Linked DNA regions of Homo sapiens: all the other regions are linked to region 1. The links are contacts of gene promoters, found by promoter capture Hi-C in human tissues and cell types (Jung and others, 2019). All regions are on one chromosome and are shown on one strand. Each heading gives the region's core, a stretch centred on a gene start or on the middle of the fragment in contact. The rest is flanking DNA. Distances are from core to core; before and after follow the strand shown. Region 1 holds the start of UGT2B15 (UDP glucuronosyltransferase family 2 member B15). Region 2 overlaps TMPRSS11E (transmembrane serine protease 11E). Region 3 has its middle 47 kb from the start of UGT2A3. Region 4 has its middle 36 kb from the start of UGT2B10.

Evidence for each region. Contacts are between HindIII fragments. The study calls those that stand out against the background at their distance.
Region 2: a contact is called between a fragment that was not itself captured here and the fragment with the promoter of UGT2B15 in region 1, in 1 of the 25 tissues and cell types used here (H1 embryonic stem cells).
Region 3: a contact is called between a fragment that was not itself captured here and the fragment with the promoter of UGT2B15 in region 1, in 2 of the 25 tissues and cell types used here (liver and mesenchymal stem cells).
Region 4: a fragment that was not itself captured here is called in contact with the fragment with the promoter of UGT2B15 in region 1 in 2 of the 25 tissues and cell types used here (bladder and mesenchymal stem cells).

The regions. Positions count from the first base shown.
Region 1 is chr4:68,668,808-68,672,809 of GRCh38, reverse strand. It overlaps UGT2B15 (UDP glucuronosyltransferase family 2 member B15), which reads left to right and starts at 2,158. Exons shown (of 6, transcript NM_001076.4): 1 at 2,158-2,915. The coding sequence starts at 2,192. The HindIII fragment of the contact is 11,998 bases long and covers 1-4,002 here.
Region 2 is chr4:68,489,472-68,493,657 of GRCh38, reverse strand. All of the region lies in intron 9 of TMPRSS11E (transmembrane serine protease 11E), which reads right to left. Among named protein-coding and RNA genes, the nearest start is that of TMPRSS11E, 44 kb to the right of the region's middle. The HindIII fragment of the contact is 3,834 bases long and covers 1-3,520 here.
Region 3 is chr4:68,902,778-68,906,813 of GRCh38, reverse strand. It overlaps the pseudogene LOC101930041. Among named protein-coding and RNA genes, the nearest start is that of UGT2A3, 47 kb to the left of the region's middle. RefSeq lists enhancers at 1-286, 287-1,178, 2,070-2,962. The HindIII fragment of the contact is 4,602 bases long and covers 1-3,747 here.
Region 4 is chr4:68,850,252-68,854,647 of GRCh38, reverse strand. No RefSeq gene overlaps it. Among named protein-coding and RNA genes, the nearest start is that of UGT2B10, 36 kb to the right of the region's middle. The HindIII fragment of the contact is 6,022 bases long and covers 1-4,396 here.

The DNA.
Region 1 (4,002 bases), core at 909-3,408:
TTCTCCCCATTTTCCCAGTCATCTGCAATAACTGCTTAAGTCAGTTAAAACTGTAAAGCTGAGTGTTCCATTTGCGGGCCATTTGGACCCGTTATCTAATTCATACTGCGACCAGGCTTTATCGTATAAAAAAGACAAGGCACTTATGGCAGATATCTTGCCTGAGGCCTAAGGTTTGCAGATTTTTAATGAGGCAGGCTGGAGGGCTGTTTTTTGGAATTGAGGACCGGGAGTTTCCCATAATGAAGGGTAGCTCGAGAGAACAGGGAAAAAGGAGACCATCCTGGACAGCTGGAGGGAGACGATAAAAGGAGTTATCGTCTCCGCTGCCTTTTTGGTTCCTGGAACGGGATGAAATGGCTTAGAGGCATCCCCCTAAGACCAGATGACCAGCGAGTGCCTGGCGCACGCTGGCGCCTTCTTGGATCAGTGTTGGATTTTTGGACTGGAGAAACCAAGAGAGGCCATGTAGATTTTGCCCTGTTAACCGGGCTCCAAGGGAAACTTACCAGTAGGCGAGATCAGTGGCTGATGCGCATGCACAGAGAGGCGACTGGAGGCTGAGGAGCTTCCTCTGTCTAATTGCTGTGGCCTGCTCTCTGGGGTGGAGGGATAGGTCCACAAGCGACACAGACCTGAGCCCCTCCTAGGATTTGGCACCAGATGTAAGGTTCTTGAATCAGTTTGAACCCCAACAGCGCGCCAACAGACAACAGGAGGCGGTGTGGAGCAACATGCTGTTTTAATGAACGCCTGGTTGCAGGTGGGCTGAGGCCTAAAATGGCATCAGCCCCAAGTGAGGATGGGACAGGGGTTTTGTAGTCCTCTGTAAACAGTAAGTGTCCCAGTCTGTTGTGACTGCTATGTAGTACCTGGATGGCCTATTTCTTGATCTTCAGGGGTACATCTCTTCCAGCCAGGGTAAGTGTCTTCTGGCCGGCTCTCTTCCTGCTTCTGCTATCTTGCTGACACACGCTGCTGATGCAAGTGGTCTTGCATCTTGGGGCTGGGCCTGAGAAGGGAGGAGTTACTCATCCCTTCAAGCCTTCAGGTCCTGAGGAGAATCTTTGAACCCCCTGCATCACTGGCCACCCTCCTGATAGATCCCTGTGATGCCAGGCAGGAATGAGCCGCTTGGGTATCCAGAGAGCTCCCAGTGCCTTTCTGCTACTTCCTCTACCCCTGTATTTTGCTTGGCTTGGTTCTCTAATTTGACTCAGCTTCACATAAAGTCAGGAACTTCTCCTGCAAACAGAACTTCAGCTTCTCCAGTGGGGATGTGTATTCTGGAGAGGGGGATCACCCTTTCCCACTTCCATTGTTGGGGCACTCACAGTGTTTGGGATGTCTCCCAGGTCCTGCAGGAGCAGTACTCTTCCTGCAGAGGGTGTGTGGATCCTCTCAGAATTGCTGGTCTGTTCTTGCAGTTGATCTGCAGCTAAAATTCACAATGCAAGCCTCTGCATGCTGCTCTGTCTGGAGCTGCAATCTAGTCCTGCATCCCATCTGCCATGATCACTGGAAAACCCTCATTTATTTTTTAAAGGGTCCAGAAAATGCTAATCTATAGAGATAGAAATTAGATTAGTGGTTGCCTAGGGTAGGATGGATGCAAAATTTCAGAGTGGGGGGTTAGAGGCTATTGTATAGAATCTTTTGGAGATAATACTGATTATTGTAGTGGATGTAAAATTCTGTGAATATACTAGGAAACATTGAACTGTACACACTAATTGGTGAGTCATATGGTATATGAATTATGTGTCAACAAAGTTTTAGAAGACATTACTTGCACCACGATATTAAAAAATGCCGTTTGAGTTGTATAATTACTTCTTCTCTCTATGTCAAGGGCACCGAACAGGCAGGAGCCTCTCACTTGCCACTGTTCTTAACAGTATTATAAAATAATTACATAAGACAGGTTACTTACATATTCTAGGTCATAAAAATTATTGCTTGACTAGAGTAATTGTAAACATAAAAGAACACCAAACACACTAAAATAAATATGAGGTCATCAATCTTTTGTTGGTCTCCTTGGCATGCACCTATTCAGACTGTTAGTATTATGTATTTACTTCAAATTTTAGCAGTTATATTTTAACTTGATTGATTTTTCCTCAGATATAAGTATGAGAAATGACAGAAAGAAACAACAACTGGAAAAGAAGCATTGCATAAGACCAGGATGTCTCTGAAATGGACGTCAGTCTTTCTGCTGATACAGCTCAGTTGTTACTTTAGCTCTGGAAGCTGTGGAAAGGTGCTAGTGTGGCCCACAGAATACAGCCATTGGATAAATATGAAGACAATCCTGGAAGAGCTTGTTCAGAGGGGTCATGAGGTGACTGTGTTGACATCTTCGGCTTCTACTCTTGTCAATGCCAGTAAATCATCTGCTATTAAATTAGAAGTTTATCCTACATCTTTAACTAAAAATTATTTGGAAGATTCTCTTCTGAAAATTCTCGATAGATGGATATATGGTGTTTCAAAAAATACATTTTGGTCATATTTTTCACAATTACAAGAATTGTGTTGGGAATATTATGACTACAGTAACAAGCTCTGTAAAGATGCAGTTTTGAATAAGAAACTTATGATGAAACTACAAGAGTCAAAGTTTGATGTCATTCTGGCAGATGCCCTTAATCCCTGTGGTGAGCTACTGGCTGAACTATTTAACATACCCTTTCTGTACAGTCTTCGATTCTCTGTTGGCTACACATTTGAGAAGAATGGTGGAGGATTTCTGTTCCCTCCTTCCTATGTACCTGTTGTTATGTCAGAATTAAGTGATCAAATGATTTTCATGGAGAGGATAAAAAATATGATACATATGCTTTATTTTGACTTTTGGTTTCAAATTTATGATCTGAAGAAGTGGGACCAGTTTTATAGTGAAGTTCTAGGTAAGTCATGTGTCTAACTGGTGCTTATTAAGTTCTAACTTTTCTGTGCCTTTGAAGGTGAGCTTATATAAATATAATGTCAGAAGATAGTGTTTTTAAGGGAAATTATGAATTGCAAATGTAAGATGATCTATCAGTCTCAAAAATATTATAGAATGTTGACCTTATAGAATCAGTTAGAACCCTGGGGCCATCACTACTACAGGACACCCAGAGAGTCATAAACCTTCATTGTAAAGCACTAATGATTTCTTTAAACTATCACATATCATTTTGCTATACATTTTTTCATCTTTAAAAAAAGTCAATAGATACCTCAAGAAACATCTTCATGAAGGCAGACACATAAATTTAGTATTTACACATATTTCTAGAAAAATTATCAATGCAGGATTGAGGAATTTGTTTCTCTTTGAGTTCCTCAGTTTCCTCATTTAGAAATTAAATTTTGTTTTTCATGTAAGAAGGATTCCTTCACAGTTGAGTAATATAGTGGCTCTACTCCAGAAACAGAAGCCTAAAACTTGAGATTTCTAATGTTTATACATTCCTTCAATAACAGGTTGACAATTATTTCTTTCAAAAACTGAAATCTTGTTGAAAGTGAACATCTAAGTTTTAATCTATATTTTATTAAACTGCATCTCTCCATCAAAGAAAATAGGGGCCAAATTAAGGGAGAGCACATATCTCTATGTCAATAAATTCTGAAAATGTTTTAATTCTCATTTGTAAATATATTTATTTTAAAAATCTAATTATATTAAGATCTTAAGATGAACCAAGACAGTAGTAGGTGTAAAGATTTCAGTGTTGAGCTCAAAAAACTCATGGTTTACTTTGAGAACCAAGGATCAAGGGACTAGCTTAATAAACTGTAGACACTAGAGTACTTCCTGGAAAGCTGTTTTCATGGGTAAGGTAAGATGAATTAATTGTGGAACTGAAAGAGTTGTTTAAAGGTATATTTGTTACTATTGCAGCTTCAGAGGGAAGACAAATGTGTATTTAAGTTCATAGTGGCTACATTAGTCCATTCTCACACTGCTGTAAAGAAATACCTGAGACTGGGTAATTTATAAAGAAA
Region 2 (4,186 bases), core at 354-2,853, 180 kb after region 1:
TTGTCTCTACTAAAAATACAAAAATTAGTCTGGTGTGGTGGCGGTTGCCTGTAATCTCAGCTACTCAGGAGGCTGAGGCGAGAGAATAGCTTAAATCCAGAAGGTGGAGGTTGCAGTGAGCCGAGATCACACCACTGCACTCCAGCCTGGGTAACAAGCATGAAACTCCATCCCTCCCCCCCAAAAAAATGGGTGCCATGTCTTCCCAGAGATAAGAAAGTAGAATATTGTAATCATAGGGCAAATTTGGCTTCTCTTCTGTAGCTCACAAAGTTTGTAAAGCGTGTACCTCTAATATCACCATCAAAATAGTATTTTTGAATGGGGACATTTTCAGATGAAAGTATATAACATCTGGGATTAACTTCAAAATAGATTTGATATTTTGGTAGGGAAAGGGGATGAGGGGATTTTATCAGGGTATGTACGGATAACGTAAGGTTGGCCATGAGTTGTAAATTTTTGAACTAGGTGATGAGTACATGAAAGTTCATTATTTTATCCTCCCTATTTTTGCATACCATTGAAATTTTTATAATAAAAATTATAAAATAAAAGATTAAGAGGGCATACATCTGTTTCTCTGAAATTTTTAGGAAGGACATTACTATAGAGACTATAGAAACCGAGATAGTTGAATAAAGAAAATAATGGATGATCATAAATGTAAAAGTGCACGATGTTTTCAACAGTTTCAGGAAAGTTGGAGGCAAGTAGGATGATGATGATTAGGACAAAAGAAGGTCTAGCATAATATCTAAACCATCAATGATTCCATGACCGTCAAGAAGACAAATAAAATACAGGTTATTCTCATTATTCATGGTAGTCGTGTTCTGTGAAGTCACCACAAATGCTGAATTAATGACTGTTGAGTCCTTGTTCTTAGGAGAAATACAGGGTTGGTTTTCCAGGAGACTCTGGTCACATTTTTGTCAACTGCTCAAGACATAAACAGATTTCGTGTGTGTTTCTGTTTAAAGACGTTCTATTTAATATACATTGTTGATTCATTAACATTAAACTCACAGTAAACACCGCTAAAACTTATAACTAAACAAAGCTTACCAAATATACATATTTTCTCCATATGGCACATCACAACCTTCTTGCACTATACTTTGGCACTACAGTTGGGGACTATTTTAAACAGCAAAATCGCCAGCAAAGATAATAAAAATGTGAAAAATGTAGCACTATGTAGACCAAGAAAAGACACTTGTTTACAGAATGAGAACTGAAACAAAAAGGCACAGTATCACATTTTTCAACCTCAGGTAAGAATATGCTCATTGAGTAATAAGATATTTTGCCACTCTGTGCATGCTTGTGAATGATCATAAAAGTGCCTTGAGTATTGATTTGGGGGTTACAAATAAATTTTAGTGAGTAGGTGAATTTGCAAATATGGAATCTGCAAATAACAAGGATCAAGTATATTTTCAAGTCATCTTTTAAGTTGAATTCATTTCAGGAGATTGAATTACAGAATCAATTTCAATTGTTAGGAAGGAATTTTTAGTAGTGTGTGGTAATGGGACCAATCTACTTTGTTCCGTGTGTTCCTCCAGGAGCAATTAGGAAACACAGAAAAAGAAACAAAATGAAGTGAGTCTAAACTTGGGCATTTGCCAGAGTATAAACAAAGGTCAACTGAATAAAAGAATTTAATGTAGCAAACTGAACATTGCTAAAACGACTAACCCAAAGGTAAAAGTTGGGAAAGAACTATAGTGATGCCAACAGGGAATTAAATGAGGTGGAGCAAATGAAGGCAATACAGATAGTGTTCATGCGAAAGCATGAAAGGAATAACATTAAAAATTGTAAAAAAAAATCTTAGAAATTAATGGTACCATTTTATGAATACAGATTAGAAAGCACACAGAGTAACATGGAATTCTGAAGAGAACTATAGGGCTTAGAAAGCACATTAAACAAAAATTCTGTCAAATCACAAAATGAAAATTATGAAAGCATTTAGTGACACACAGAAGGAACCAGTTATTGGCCCCCTCCATGATTTTGTGAGTGATGCACATGAAGACATAGAGGTCAAAATTTTTGTATCCACCAAAGGCACAAAATTGGTGGCAATAGCCAAACACTGGAAAACAAAACCCGGCTTCAAAAATATGTAAACGCTCCAGACCAATATGGGACAGACTTACTTATTCTTTTTTCCCCAGCTAAATATGGCTAAAACAAACAAAAAAATACCTGGGCATTACAAATAAAACAAACATAAAAAGACTCTGAAAATTAGAGAGAAGACGACAGGTGGGCTCAGAAATGCAGGACAAAAGGAATGATACAAGAGTGAGCTCTCTCAATTTTTTTTTTTTTTTTTTTTTTTTTGCTTCATATATCATGGACTTGGAAGAAGCCAGCAACCTGGCAACCTGCCAACAAGTGCAAGTTTTTTAAAAGGCTCCAAGAAAATCCTGCTCTCCCTAGTAAAATAATCAATAAGAGGACAACTTGGGAAAACAGCAAATCCAGGAAGACAATAAATCCCAACTGAAAAGACTTCCATGCTTACCAGGCTGTAAGAAGGCCCAATTCCCTACTAGATTGGTGTCAGAATATGCTGAATAGGCACCAGGTGCAGTGGCTCACACTCGTAATCCCAGCACGTTGGAAGGCTGAAGCAGGTGGATGACCTGAAATCAGGAGTTTCAGACCAGCCTAGCAAACATGGCAAAACGCCGTCTCTACTAAAAATACAAAAATTAGTCAGGTGTCGTGGCACATGCCTTTAATCTCAGCTACTCAGGAGGCTGAGGCAGGAGAATTGCTGGAACCTAGGAGGCAGAGGTTGCAGTGAGCCAAGATGGCACCACTGCACTCCAGCCTGGGCAACAAGCGAGACTCCACCTCAAAAAAAAAAAAAAAAAAAAAAAAAAGAATATGCTGAGTGGGAAGCATGAACTACCACCCAGTAATGAGGAATAACTCTCCCCATCTACTAGAACCATGTCTGAGGAGAGGTAGTGGGAAGTCAAGTCTTTCACCACTGCGAAGCAGTAATGAAATCACTACCCCATGATGTCAGTGGAGGCCAAAAGGGGAGCAGTAACAAAGTACCTTCAGCCAGAGTGTTATCAGAAGAGGCCTAACCTCCATGCAGTAGTAATGAGCATTAGTCCCTCACCTGAGCATCAAAGGAAGCTGAGTGGGAAATGAGGCAATTCCTTCATACATCCCCCTCCCTCTGCATCACAATGTCTGCTGAGGCATGGTTAAATAGAAAATTTAAATAAGATCTAGAGTTTTAAATAATAATAATTTAATTTTTTCAAATTATTATTATTTCATTATTTAATAAATACTAAAACAAAATGGCCGACCAGACGCAGACAAGAAGACCTTCTCCCAGTGAGGGACCAGACCATCAAGAAGACTGGCACACTCTGAACAAATTTTCAGAAAGAAGGCATTGAGAGTTGATGGAAGGAGAATGCAGACCCCAGGCTGAAAGGGAAGGAAGCTGGTAACCCTGCACAGGGTTGCCAAGCACCAGAACTTGTTCCTGGCCTGGAGAGGCTCCTGGGGAAGGAGTAAGTTAAATGGTCATGGAGTGGCCAACTCACACCACAGACCTCCAGAATCTTAGCTGCAGGAGACCCCTCATCCCCCATGGACAGTTAAGGTGGCAGGGAGAACAGCCTGGAGAGTTGAAAGAGACAGAATTCTAGCCTGCACAGAGTCCACAGGGTTTGGCATGAGAATGGCTACAGCAGAGCATGGCATGGGTGCCCATCCCCCAAATATCATACATCTCTAGGTGGCTTTCGCCTTTGTTGATGGACAGACCTGGACATCACAGGGCTCTCTTGCTTGTGGGATGGGAACAATCTGATCCAAGCACTCGCTTGTCTGCTGGCCTATGCCAAATTCCCTGCCTGGCTACACAAACTTGCAGCACTGCCTCAGCTGCCCAGCCAAGGCATTTTTTGACAGCCACAGCCATTGCTATTTTGATGGCAGACCCTGCCTAACAGCTGGAGAGCTCCTGAAGGCAGGTCCCTGTCAGTGAGCGCCCACCAGCATGCACTCACTGGCAGCCTCTACCTGCTGCTTTGCTGTCATGCCTTTGCCTGCAGCCTCCAGCCACTGACTCACTGGTGTATGCATGCACACTGACCCCATCACTGCCCCACCACCAGCACGCATGCCTGTGCAG
Region 3 (4,036 bases), core at 197-2,696, 230 kb before region 1:
CTCCCAGGGAGTGACAACTAATCCAACACAGAGAGGCTGGGGGACGGTGAGAGTGGCTCACAAATTTGGATGAAACTCACACCCCAACCAACACAGGACGCGAGAGTGGCTCGCTAAGTTAGTTCAGAAGGAAACTGGATGCAGTGAGAGCGGTTCACTGCCCCAACCAGGATAGGGAACTGGGAGCGGGGAAGTGTGTGAGTGCGTGTGAAAGAGACAGTTCTGGGAGGAACCAACGGGAATGACATGTGTGGAGCTGCTGATCTCTTAGTGTAGGCTGTACGCTCCGAGCAAAATGTAGGACCAACCGGGTCCAATCGGTCTAAAACAAAAGGAAAGGTGAATGTGCTGCATCATAACTGGGAGGAAATGGGAGGAAAATCGTGGAAACCCACCCCATTGGAATGTATGTTAAAGAACTTTAAGAAAGGCTTTGCAGGGGTTGAGGGAGTCAAGTTAACCCCTCAGATGCTGAGAGCTCTCTGTGAATTAGAATAGCCCTTTTTTGGTGTTGGCTGGCCTGCCAAATGTGCTACAGATAGGGAGAAAATTGGCCGTGTGTTTAAGGTGGTGACCTGAGTTGGAGGACAGTCAGATAATTCAGACCAAATTTCCTTATATTAACTCATGGCTGAATGCAGCCCTGTTTAGCAGCTTATTGAAGAATGCTCACAGCTCAAGCCAAGAGAAATCAATTGTGCTGCCAGCTACAAAGACAAAGTGAAAGCTTCGCCTGTAAACAGAGTTAAAGGGAAAGTCACAGGAGCTTGTAGCGTGAGCAAACAGAGACAAAAAGAAAGCCACAGGAAAAACCAGTTTTTCAAGAACCACTGGAGGGAAAAGAGACCCCTCCTCCATATGTTCCAATCTACCCCCGCTTTCCCCAGGTTAACTGCCTCTGAGGAGTCAAGCTCAAATGGATACATGCCCCCAGTCTCTCTTGAGAGGGAAAAATCTGAGCCCTCACTCCAGGAAGTTAAGGTGAAATGCTAGGAAAAACAGGCAAGCCACCTCCAGTCAGGTTGTGTTAGGGCTATGCAAATGCCTCTCCTGGAAACTAGAGGACCCCCACTAGAACCCAAAGGAATGAGGCAGCCCAACTATAGCAGCTGCCAAGATACCAAGAGGCACTCCTGCAAAATTTAAGGGAAGGCGGGAGACAGGCAATCAATATAGGAAAAATCTCAGAGGGGCATCAGGGTGCAGATGAAAGCCCCAGCCATTTTTATAAAAGACTTGGTGAGGCCAGTGCATGATGAACATGGCATTTGTAGAGCAGGCCCAGGGGGATATCCAGTGAAAATTGCAGAAAATGGAAGGTTTTAAAGGGATGAATGCTACTCAGCTTATTGAAGTGGCCACGAAGGTGTACATTAACCAAGATCAGGAGGCAAAGAGGGAGGCTAATAGAAGGCTTGAGAAAAAGGCTGATTTGCTGGCAGCATCCCTCATGGATGTGGGTATGGACATGGGCATGGAAGAGGCCAGTCTGGACAGGGATTTGAGGGCCAGCCGAGGCTGGAAAGAGATCAGTGTGAGCGGTGCAAAAGAAAAGGACACTGGAAGGATGAGTGTCCAGAGAATAATAACAAGGAGGACAGTCAGGGCATTCAGACCAAATTTCCTTATGTTAACTCATGGCTGAATGCAGCCCTGTTTAGCAGCTTATTGCAGGATACTCGCAGGTCGAGCTGAGAGAAATCACCTGTGCTGGCAGCTGCAAAGACAAAGTGAAAGCTTCGCCTGTAAACACAGAGTTAAAGGGAAAGTCACAGGAGCTTGTAGGTTGAGCTGAGCAAAAAGTGAAAGCTTCTCCGGCAAACACAGAGACAAAAAGAAAGCCACAGGAAAAACCAATTTTGCAAGAACCACTGGAGGGAAAAGAGACCCCAGGGCAGTAGTATAGGAAGGCCACCTACTGGTGGCTGCCACACCAGGGAGGAACCAGACATCGATCTGATTGGACTGGCAGGGGCTGAAGGATATGAGGGTAGGACAGACCAGGCTGCTTCTCTTTGGGACCCGAGGAGCCCATGGTCAGATTAGAAGTTAGAGGCCAGCTAATGGACTTTACGGTAGACACCAGAACTAAACACTTAGTAGTGACCTGACCTATAGAGCCACAATCCAAGAACTGTGCAACTATTGTAGGAGCCACTGGAGTCTCTGAAAAGTGGCCTGTCGGTCAAAGAGGTGTGTTATAGGAGGATGAGAAGTCCAAAATGAATTCCTATACCTCCTAAATTGTCCAGTTTCTTTGCTGGGAAGAGACCTACTTCAAAAACTGCAGGCACAGATTACATTTGGGCCGCAAGGGAATGTAACTTTAAACGTAGTTTGCCCAGAGGCTATGATGTTAACCCTCACTGTCCTGCAGGCTGAGAAATGGAGACTATGCAAAAAAGACTCCGGAACCAGGAGTAAATGAAATGCATGGGTTACTTACTAAAATTCCCAGAGTTTGGGCTGAAAGTAATCCACCTGGACTGGTGCCAGCGTAAATCAGGCACCGGTGGTGGTAGAGTTAAAACTGGGAGAAACTCCGGTTCGGGTCCGACAGTACTCGCTACTCCCTGAGGACATACGGGGTGTCCACAAACATTTAGAGTGGCTTCATAAGCATGGAATCATAGCCAAATGCCAGTCACCATGGAACAACATTCTCTTGCCAGTGCGGAAGCCGTCTGGGGAATATAGGCCAGTACAGGATTTGCATTCAGAAAACCAGGCCACAGTGACCATCCACCCAGTGGTGTCAAACCTGCATACCTTAATGGGACATATTCCAGCAAGTGCCACTTGATTTACAGTCCTAGATTTAAAGAATGCATTTTTCTGTCTCCAGTTTGCACCAATTAGTCAGGCTAGTTTTGTTTTTCAATGGGGGTAAATCACAGTACACTTGGACAAGATTCCCACAAGGATTTAAAAACTCCACTACAATCTTTGAAGAGGCACTGGCCTCAGATCTTAAAGTCTACACCCCACCGAATAGTTACTGTGTCTTGCTCCAGTACATTGATGATCTTCTTCTAGCAGCCCCAACTCAAGAGGACTGCTTCCAAGGGACCCAAGACCTCCTGCACCTGCTATGGAAGGCAGGATATAAAGTGTCAGGGAAAAAGGCTCAAATTTGCTTTGAAAGTTTCCAATATTTAGGCTTCTATATAAGCTAAGGGAAAAGATGGCTTGGTTGTGAATGGAAGCAGGTGGTTTGTGCACTTCCTACTCCAACCACCTGGTGAAAAATAAGAGAGTTCCTAGGGGTAGCAGGGCTCTGCCACATCTGGATCCCAAATTTCTCACTCATGGCTAAGCTATTATATGAAACCACAAAGTGGGGGAAAAGGAGACCATCCTCTGGGAGGCCAACCAGGAGAAGGCCTTTAAGGAAATCAAAGAAGCCTTGACTCTGGTCCCAGCTTTAGGACTGACAGATCTAACGAAGCCTTTCTTTTTATATGTCCACGAGCAAAAGGGAATGGCCATAGGAGTTCTAACTAAATCCATAGGATCATGGCACTGCCCAGCGACGTACTTATCCAGGCAATTAGATTCTGTGGCATTTGGATGGCCTCCTAGTTTTAAGGCATTAGCTGCCACTGCTCTGCTGGGACAGAAAGCTAATAAACTGACTTTAGGACAGCAAATGACGATCCAGGTACCACACTCGGTTGTAACTTTGATGGACCAAAGGGGGCACCATTGGTTATCAAATCCTAGAATAACTCGATACCAAGGGCTCCTATGTGAAAATCTCTGCATAATTTTAGACTGTGAATACCCTAAACCCAGCTACCTTGCTTACCATTGAGTCAATGCCAGGAAGCCCCCTTCAATGCTGTGTGGATGTGGTAGGTGAAGTGTTCTTAAGCCAGAGAGATTTGACAGATCAGCCCCTCGGGGACCCCGACATTGGATATTTTACTGATGGGAGCAGCTTCATACTAGAGGGTGTCCGCCAAGCTGGGTATGCAGTGGTGACTTTGGACTCAGTAGTGGAGGCGAAGTCTTTGCCTACAGGATCTTCCCCTCA
Region 4 (4,396 bases), core at 1,583-4,082, 180 kb before region 1:
AATCATTCAAGGAAGAAAACATAACAATTCTTCAAAAAACAATCCTCCTAATAATAGAAGAGGAGAAAACACTACCAACATATTTCATTGACCCCTTCTACTAAAACCACAAAAAACACATCACAAAAAATGAAAACTACAGATCAACAGCTCTTGTAATTATAGACACAAAATTCCACAATAATATCTTAGCAAACTGAATATAAGAACATACAAAAGTTATTATATACCACAAATAAGTGAAATTAATCTCAGCAATGCAAAGTTACTTTAACATTTAAATTATTGATAGCACCTGTTGGGAAACTCCTCTGCCCTCACAGGCTCAGAAGTGCCTGATCTTACTGCCTGGCTTCTTCCTGATGTCAGTGCCCACTTGATCTCATAGCAAAGTTGGGACTGAGCCTAGGCACCATGAGTGACAGCAGGAGGCAGACTGATTCCTGGGCAAAAGGGGGTGGGTCCCCAGTGATCCCCATCTTCAGGACCGGGGAAAGCCTGAAGGCTGGGGACTAGGTTGCCTGTCTGTCCCATGGACCGAAGTGGGAACTTGTGGTGCCTCTTCTGGGCCCACCCATGGCTGCTCACAGACCAATTAACTTGCACTTTCTCCCTAGTGAGGCCCATTAAAACTATGGGTTCAGCCATAGCTGAGCAGATGACAATATGACCAGCTGCAGAGAGGAACTACCTTCTCAGTGGAGAGCTTCTGAGACCTGCAGAGACATCGGGACAACAAGCTGCAGAGAGGAGCAACCCACTCTAAGGCCTCTTTTCAGCTAGGAGCTGAGCAGACATCAGGACAACCAGCTGCAGAGAGGAAAGTCGGAGAATTCCTCGAGCCCAGGAGTTCGAGACCAGTCTGGGCAACATACAGAGACCCTGTGTCTACAAAAAGTAATAATAATAATAATAAATAGAAGTGTGCAGAGGTGCATGCCTGTAGTCTTAGCTATTCTTGAGGCTGAGGCAGGAGGATTGATGGAGCCCAGGAGTTTAAGGTTACAGTGAGCTGTGATCACACTTCCACACTCCAACCTGAAAGGCAGAGTGAGACTATTTCAAATAAAAACAAAAAGGAAGAAGAAGAAGAAAGAGAGGAAAACTCAAGCAAGGAGAGAAGTTCAGATGCTCCAACCCCTAAAATATAATAATAACTAACTTTCTAATATGTACAACACAACTATGATCTTTGAATACTTATGAAATACTCTTTATTTTTTTATTCTACGTAGCTTTTTATAATTACCTATACTATTTTTGGCTGCAAACCTGAAGTTATTTTTAACACTCACATAAAAACTAAATTTTAAAAATTTGTAAATTATGCACTAGTTTATGATGATTTCCTGGTAATTCCAAAATCAGTACCTCATTATGGTACTAGGCATGTACCAAATGGCTTAGCTATAGACAACCATATTAAACACTGCTGTCAATGCTTTGGAGTATGTCATCGAAGATTTAACAGTCTTTGAATAAAATTTAGCATCATTGCATTTTAGAATTTTTTTCAACAGCACTATTATTTATAAGATGCCAATCATTCTTTCTCATATCTAAAAATGTCCATGCTAACAAATGTAATAATATTATGGATATACATGAAAAATGCCACTTGAAATTTTTTATCTTTATATGTAATTCCTAAGCAGAATTAATTTATTTCTCATACAGAGAGGATTACATAGATTTGCTTTGTTTGTAAATCAAAAGATGTCAGACTGTAACTATGGAACAAGTGGATATAAGTAAACTGTCTCCCATTTCATTGTTTTAAAAATAAAAAAGCTTAATAATAAATTTGGAAGAAGAGAGTGAGTATAGTACAAACATTAATTTAAAAAGTGTGGACCATTATTAATTTGTTACTCTTCTTCACACCAGAATTATGACTGTCTAACAATTAAATACTTGAATTTTTCATTTATTATCTCAATTGTTTAAGTCACTATGTATGAAATATTATGATTGCATTTAAACTGATCTAATGTAAAAATAAGTCCAGGAAATATAGTTGTTCTGCTTACTTCAGTCTTCTAGTAGTTCTCATTAATTAACCTGTCCTATTCTGTTTTCTTTGTCTGCTATATAGAAGGCATTTAGTAGGGTTCTCAGTCTTTTTAGAATTCTAACAAATATGGTTTAATTTGAATTTGACTCAGAACAAAGTATTTTCTTTATATAAATGATCACATGGAAATTTGATGACAGGAAATCAGATACCTTAGTATCAATACTTCGCTGTATAGTGGGTAGTCCAGAATGGCCTTGGTGAGACTCTGAAGAACAAAGATTGAAAACATGGCTAACAGCCAATCATGATGAAAATACTTCAACAGAAAAAAAACAGATTCACCATTTATTATTTAAAAACTCAAAAATAAAATCTAGCATGTTTATATTTATGTTCCAGTCCTGGGGGAAAAATACAATTAATTACAACAGTTACCATTTTTTTTATACACAGTTACGTTCTTTATGGCTAGAACAAATTATCTTTATTTCTATTTCAACTGTAGTTACCTCTTAAACAATAAAAGTTCAATAATTTTCTAGGTTGTCTGTCTCCTAATTCAATCATTACAAACACCCTTTCTCCTTATGTAGGGATATTTCAGTTGCAACTGAAAAATAACAGCCTGTCTTTTATTTCCAGTGACAGCATTTTATATGGGAAAAAATCCCCAGTCTTTATCATGAAGTGGTAACACACTTCATACTGGAGTGTCGCCTATACTTCACTTTGGTGGTTTTAGTGGAAATGTTTATCAGAGGTTCTAGGCTAGTGCATAAGTTTTAAAATAGTCAAAAATGAAATAGGAATTGCTGAAGATGGTAACAACACATTATAAAGAAGACTGAGAACAAAGTTGAAGCAGGGAAACATAAATATTATTAGAGTACTGTCTAGTTTTCACCATGTTTATGCCAGTCTTTCAGCATGAGAGCTCATCAAATGTTATTTTTCTGGATAAATTTTATTTGGTATATATAATGTATACGAGATGCTATCATCAGATGCAAATATGTAGTGAAAAGGTTGCTATAATGAAGCAGGTAAGCATGTGTCAATCATCTCACATTAGTTACTCAATTTTTTTATTGTTTTTAAAACTCTTCCAAAATGCTTTATTTTCAGTAAATTGGCATGACATAATCAATCACTAGTTCCTCTTCTATTTAATTATAAGGAAATAATTATGATGTTAATATTTTTAATCCCATCACTGATGAATTGTAAACCACTACGCCTTTCAAATTTACCTGTTTAAAACAATTGAAAAAAATAAGATACTAGTATAAAAGTGACCATATTCTTTGTTATTGTGGTTGTGGTTGCTTTTGTCTCATTTGAAATAATTATAAAATAACGGGCTTGAAAGAGATAAATTGGAATATTTCTGTTTAACAGCCAAAATGTCTGAAACCAGAAATTTGTTGTTTTTAAATTATTTCAGTACACACAATAATTTTAGTTATGCTATTTTATTAATAGTTACATTAACAAAAATTAAATAATTTTAATATTTACTATTATGTTTTTAATATTAATTTTAATAAACTCATTCTGGTGTTGAAAAATAAAGATAATTTTTGAATAGTTAACACATATTGAATGTATATGAAATGACATGCATTGTATTGGTTCTTTGTATTATGTAACTTCTTGATTATAGTTTTTTACAATTGTATTAAAAACATAAATCAGGATTAATGTCACCCTCTGAAAAACACAGTCTTCCCACTGTGATCTTTAAATAACAAGAACAGAAGTTACCTCCATTGCTATTGCTACAGTGCTATGCATTAACACTTCATAATTTTAACTTGGTAAGCATATACTTATATCCATCCTTATTATTTGTCTATTAGTCCATAATTATTTTAACACTAAATGCCTCAAAGCATTCAATGCAATGTCTCAAAGTAAAATATTGAACTCTTCTTAAATTCTAAAATCAAAATACAACAAGAAAAAACGGTGATAGTAGCAAACATTTACTAAGAATCTCTTTATGATGAGAATAATTTCAGCAAGTATTCTAAGAACCATTGCATGGCTACTCACAATAACCAGATAAGAAAGATATATGATTTTTATTCATTCAATTTAACAGTAAAATCTAGGAAGAGATGTGCTTTTTTTACTCATAGTCAGCATATATATATATAATTGACTACAGTATATTTTTCAGTATTTCGTTATAAAATTTGCATACAACGAAATGCATGTATCTTCACTATACATTTTTTGAGTTTCAACAAATGCTTACACCTCTATAAACCCAAACCCATAAGACATTATTATGACCACACAAATGTCCCTTCATGCCTCTTTGCAGTCCAACTCAGCCCTTGCTTCCCAGAGGAGATTGTTTTAGAATATCTTATA